2 separate regions of the Homo sapiens genome follow, and region 2 is linked to region 1. The links are contacts of gene promoters, found by promoter capture Hi-C in blood cells and fetal thymus (Javierre and others, 2016). All regions are on one chromosome and are shown on one strand. The core of a region is centred on a gene start or on the middle of the fragment in contact, and the rest is flanking DNA. Distances in the headings are between cores, read along the strand shown. Region 1 holds the start of CIB2 (calcium and integrin binding family member 2). Region 2 has its middle 21 kb from the start of IREB2.

Region 1 (2,643 bases), core at 55-2,554:
TCCTGCCCAGTTACACAGGCCACAACACAATCCTGCCCCCTCCGCCTGGGGAGTCAGGGGAGAGGCATCAGATGTGGGACTTGAAGGGTGAAAGAGATCCTCTGGAGGGGGGAAAGGCATCCAGGCCCAGGAAATGGCATGGGCAGAGGGAGAGAGGGAGGGAGGAATGAGCCTGGTGAGCTGGAGCAACTGCAAATGGTTTTAAGGCGGCTGCCATGCAGAGGGCAGGGAAGGGACCTGGGGAGACTGAGGCTGCAGAGATAAGCTGAGCAATTGGCCAGGGCTCCGGGTAAGCCAAGGGGTTGGGCTTCATCCTGCAACCACAGCGAAGTTTTTACCTGGGTGGGACGGTATTGGGATTCCAGATCTGGAAAGCTGGCTCTGGAGGCAGGAAAACCTAGAAAGGTCTAAGGAGGTGGCTACTGAGGGCCTAAGGGAGCTGGGAGAGGTGGCCCTGGAAGGCTGCTACCGGGCTTGCGTTCTTGCTCCAGTTATCTCCATGCTGGGGTCAGAAGGAGCGAACCCCAGCCGATAAACAAGACAGTCCCAAGGGAAGACTGCATGTGGGGACTGATGCACCCCACTCCTAGACCAGACAGGACGCCAGCTCTCATTTCTGCTTTACAGAGACTCGCTCTCCTGGGCTCCTTCCTGGGGCTGGGGGGCAGGGAGCGGGGAGGGCGGTCCTCCGTCCAGCCTAGTTTACTGACTCCCTCTCCGGGCCAGATGGGCGCTGGAATGGGTGGCTGGAGAGGGGTTCGGGTCCTGCCTAGGGCGAGAGTAGCTGGAGAGAGGCGCGCCTGAGAGGTTCTTCCAACTGGAAAGAGCTCTTATTCCACCGGTGGGGAAACTGAGGCACGGCGAGGGGAAGTCACCGGCCCAAGGTCACGCGTCGAGCTGAAGGCAGAGGCAGGGTTTGAACCTGGGAGAGCTGGCTCTCGGGAGGCCTCGGCCAGCGACCGAGAAAAGGGAGGGGCGGCGGGGCGGCGGGGCCTGTGTTGGGGGCCGGGCGCGCCGAGCTCACCTGGTAGTTGTCTAGCTGCTCTTCGGTGAAGATGGTCTGCTTGTTCCCCATGGTGGCCGCCGCGCCGCCGCTCGCCCGCCCGGGCTCCGACTCCCATCAGCGGCCGCCAGACCCGGAGCCAGCGCCCCGTGCCCGCGGCCCTCGGCAGCCCCGCGGCTGGCAGCGGCCCACGGTGGCCGGACCCTTCCCGCCCCGCAGCTCGCCTGGAGGAGGCGCGCGGGGGTCTCGGAGGCGGGGACGGGAACCCGGAGCGGCAGCGACTCCGCCGCCGGCGGGAAGAGGGCGGGGCACCCGGCTCCGCGGCTGCAGCGCGCCCGGGTCCCGGCAGGAGGCGACCTGGCCCCGGGAGACGCTGCCCGGCACGAACCCTTGGCTCCCGCGGCCGGAAGTGCTGGGGGCGCGCGGGGGTCTCGGAGGCGGGGACAAAGACCCGGAGCGGCGGCGACTCCGCCCCGCAGCAGGAAGAGGTGTGAGCCCGGGTCCCGCCGTGGGAGTCCAGGTCGCACGGCGTGAGGGTGCGGGGCCTGGGAAAAAACCCTCTCGAGGCGGGCAGTGGGGCGAGTGGCGCCCCTTGACCTGGGGCGGGGGCGGCAGCGAGGACTGTGAGTGCGTGGATCTAGCTGGGGCCGGGCTCCGCCACCGTCTCGCGTCGCGACCTTGGTCAAGCCCTTACCCGGGCCCTGTCCCTCTGGGGAGAAGGAGGGGGTCAGTCAAGCTGACATCTGAGGCCCTCCCGGCCAGGCCTCGGGAAGCCCATCTGGCCTTTGGGCGCGGCCTAGGCAGGGCATCTCAGACCTTCTGTGTTCCTTAGGGAGCAGGACAGGATTTACTTGGCTTGGTTACAAACGTGAGACTTGAGAGGATTTAAAGGACTTGACTGTGTCCACAGAAGTGTGACAAAGGCCAAGACATTTTTTGGAGCTTTTAAGCAGATGCCATTGTAAGGGAAGCAGGACTTTACCTCTGCCCTCCTAGGGTCTTTGGCTGGGCTTGAGAATTAATTTGGCATAAGACAGATTAAGGGGAGAAAAACAGATTTAATACAAGTTTTACATGACGTGGAAGCCCTCATAAGGAAATGAAGACCCTGAGAACTGGCAAAATCTAAATACTTTTTTTTTTTTTTGAGATGGAGTCTCCCTCTGTCGCCCAGGCTGGAGTGCAGTAGCGCGATCTTGGCTCGCTACAACCTCCGCCTCCTGGGTTCAAGCGATTCTTCTGCCTCAGCCTCCCCTAGTAGGTGGGACTACAGGGGCATGCCACCACACCCAGCTAATTTTTTTTTGTATTTTTAGTAGAGAGAGGTTTCACCATGTTGGCTGGGCTGGTCTCGAAATCTTGACCTCAGGTGATCCACCTGCCTCAGCCTCCCGAAGTGCTAGGATTAGAGGCCTGAGTCACCACGCCCGGCCAATTATTGTATTTTTTTTGTAGAGATGGGGTTTTGCCGTGTTGCCCAGGCTGGTTTTGAATTCCCAGGCTCGAGCAATCCACCCACTTTGGCTTCTCACCCAAAGTGCTGGGATTATAGGATGTGAGCCATCATGCCCGGCCTCATCTCCTGTTTTTTAGAAAAAGAAGGATGATCAAGAGTGCCCTTCTTGCATCTGCTATTTTTC
Region 2 (2,643 bases), core at 52-2,551, 290 kb after region 1:
CCAGAAAGCAAAGTTGGGACAGGTGAGAACCAGATGAGCACAGGTTTCAGCTCAACATAAAAGAAAACATCTTCATAGACAGTCTGTCACACAATGGAACAGGCATCTCCTGGAGGAAGTGAGAAGGGACACTCTCACCAGAGACAGAACCTGTGTGGGACAGGGGTTTTGATTTGTAGACACTTGAATCTGAATCTACTGCAGCTAATTGTTTAACAGAAACAAGTTTATAATGATGAATTGGTGCTCAGCATCAATTTCATTCTCCTTGTGTTCCTTCCTCCACTGAGGAAGCTGGAAAGCTCAGATCTGTATTTCCCAGACTCCCCTGTAGCAGGATTTGTGGTGTGATTTGGGCTCAGCATATCAGATGGGCTTGCACGGAAGGTGAGGAGGAGGCCATACTTCTGCTGGGTCTGCTGATTTTTCAGTGGCCCTTGAGAATTCCAGTGTCCAGTCACACGCTTTATGTGTATTAAGAAGCAGAGCATGAGGCATTAACTAGTATAGATGGTGGCAGGCACAGAGTGACTCTTCAGCTAGCAGCAGCAGTCGTGGTATCTGATCATGGTGGTGTCCTGATTGTGACAATTTGCCAAGCTGGGTCTCACCTGCTGTCTTCTCCTTCAGACTTTCCGATAAGTCGCTTCCTTTCTCTGGGCCTTGTGAGAAACAAACTTACCTGTCCAAACCCAAAGAATGAACTCGGAGACCTGGAGATCAGCAAAAGTGAGACTTTTAATGATAGTCTTGCAAGATTGGGTGTCTGATGGGCAGACACACCCAGCACAGTTTTAACAAGCAATTTATACCCTAGTGAGCAGGTCCCTTCCCCTGTTCCTCATAGGCTTGAGTACTGTGGGGTCACAATCTTCCTGGACGTCGTCTATTGGTTGTTGGATAGGGGCTTTAGGTGTTTTCTTTAGGGTTGTCTTGCTGCATTTTGCTGCAGCCCACAATGCATCGCAATCCTAGTTAGCTCAGGGGCTCTTTAAGTGTTTGACTTACGACCTACGTAGCTGGGCAGGCTGATAAGAACAGACAAAGCAAGCTATTTTGCAGACTAATAAACTTTCATTTTAGACTAAACTTCTTTGGTTCGGGTGAGGGCAACTAAGGCGGCAGGGGGTGGTGAGGGGGCTGCGCACAACAAGCAGGCATCGGCTATCCAAGCAGGGGCCTAGTATATCCTGTTTCTTATGTAGTTTGCTAACCTAAGCTGATTTAAGGCACATTTTCTTGGAAATGGACCACTGTATACATTATTTCCTTCAGGCCTCACTTGCTTCATTTGACAAAAAGGGGTCAGAACACTGTCGCATCAGTTGAATCAGCTCCCAGCTTCCTCCCAAGGCTCATGCCCTACAGGAGAAGACATCCTAGGATTCAGAGACAGTTTGCAAAGGTCTCTACCTATTCAGAGCAGCTATTTTTCCAAATGGAGTCATACTTCCTAATAATCTCACAAACTCTGCATAGCAGAGCCACATCTTATACAGGCATAGGTTCTAAAGTCAGCATTTAAAGTAAAAATCCTATTTAGTCAAAATGACCTTGAAAATCCTCTAGGTTTTCTATATATTGCATTATTGCATGACAAAAATATCTTTGAATAAGATCAATACAGCCAGCTCTTCCTCCAGCATAGATAGACAGCAGCTTCTTCAGCTGAGTACCAGATACAGTAGTGGGCTTATGTTTTGGGCTGAATTGTATGAAAAATAGAAAATGTTCAACGCAGCTGGGTGCAGTGGCTCATGCCTCAATCCCAGCACTTGGGGAGGCTGAGGCAGGCAGATCACTTGAGATCAGGAGTTCAAAACCAGCCTGGGCAACATGACAAAACCCCGTCTCTACTAAAAATACAAAAATTAGCTGGGAGTGGTAGCACATGACTGTAGTCCCATCTACTCAGGAAGCTGAGGTGGGAGAATTGCTTGAACTCAGGAGGCAGAGGCTGCAGTGAGCTGAGATCACACTATTGCACTGCAGCCTGAGTGACAGAGCGAGACCCTGCCTCAAAAAAAAAAAAAGTTCAATACTACAGATATACCCGGTGCTGGGAGATAGATGCTTACATTATGAAAGATTGAGCTCGGGGAATGGGGTGACAAAGAGCAGGCAGAATGTGTAGGGCAGGGCTCTGAAAGTTCAAAGGCCAAGAGGCTGGGGGAGGGCCTCAAGAGATGGGCCTAGTGGGAGGCAGTGGTGCTGAAGGGTCCTCAGTAGCCCTGCCAAATCCTTCCAACCCGGCCTCCCTTTTGCTCAGCAGTGCCTGGTTTGAAAGAGCCCTTCCATGGGTCTGCCGGAAGAGCTGTCAGGAAGGCTGCAATAATGATGTCACCCATGTTGAGAGAGAAGCAGTGACATTGAGGTGTGAAAGATTGGGAAGATTTCAGGGAAAAAAAGGGTGCAGGGTGATGGATGGGTGGGTTTGCCTAGCTGGAGAGGAAGGGGGTGGCATTCATGGGAGATGAACGGGGGGTGAGGGTGGAACAGCAGAAACAGAGGCTGATGTGGGGAAGCTCAGGGCCTGCTTCCCCTGGAAAGCAGATGACTCAGTGAGATGACGCAGAAGATCCAGGAAGGTGAGAGGGCTCAAATATCAAGCTGGAGAGTTTATTTATTTATTTATTTATTTAT

The links. Contacts are between HindIII fragments. The CHiCAGO score rates a contact against its expected background, and 5 or more counts as called.
Region 2: a fragment that was not itself captured here is called in contact with the fragment with the promoter of CIB2 in region 1 in 1 of 17 cell types (total CD4 T cells); the score reaches 5.0 in total CD4 T cells.

What each region holds. Positions count from the first base shown.
Region 1 is chr15:78,130,141-78,132,783 of GRCh38, forward strand. CIB2 (calcium and integrin binding family member 2) reads right to left here and starts at 1,305. Exons shown (of 6, transcript NM_006383.4): 1 at 1,025-1,305. The coding sequence starts at 1,075. RefSeq lists a silencer at 1,010-1,529. The HindIII fragment of the contact is 4,409 bases long and covers 1-2,643 here.
Region 2 is chr15:78,415,946-78,418,588 of GRCh38, forward strand. No RefSeq gene overlaps it. Among named protein-coding and RNA genes, the nearest start is that of IREB2, 21 kb to the right of the region's middle. The HindIII fragment of the contact is 3,863 bases long and covers 1-2,643 here.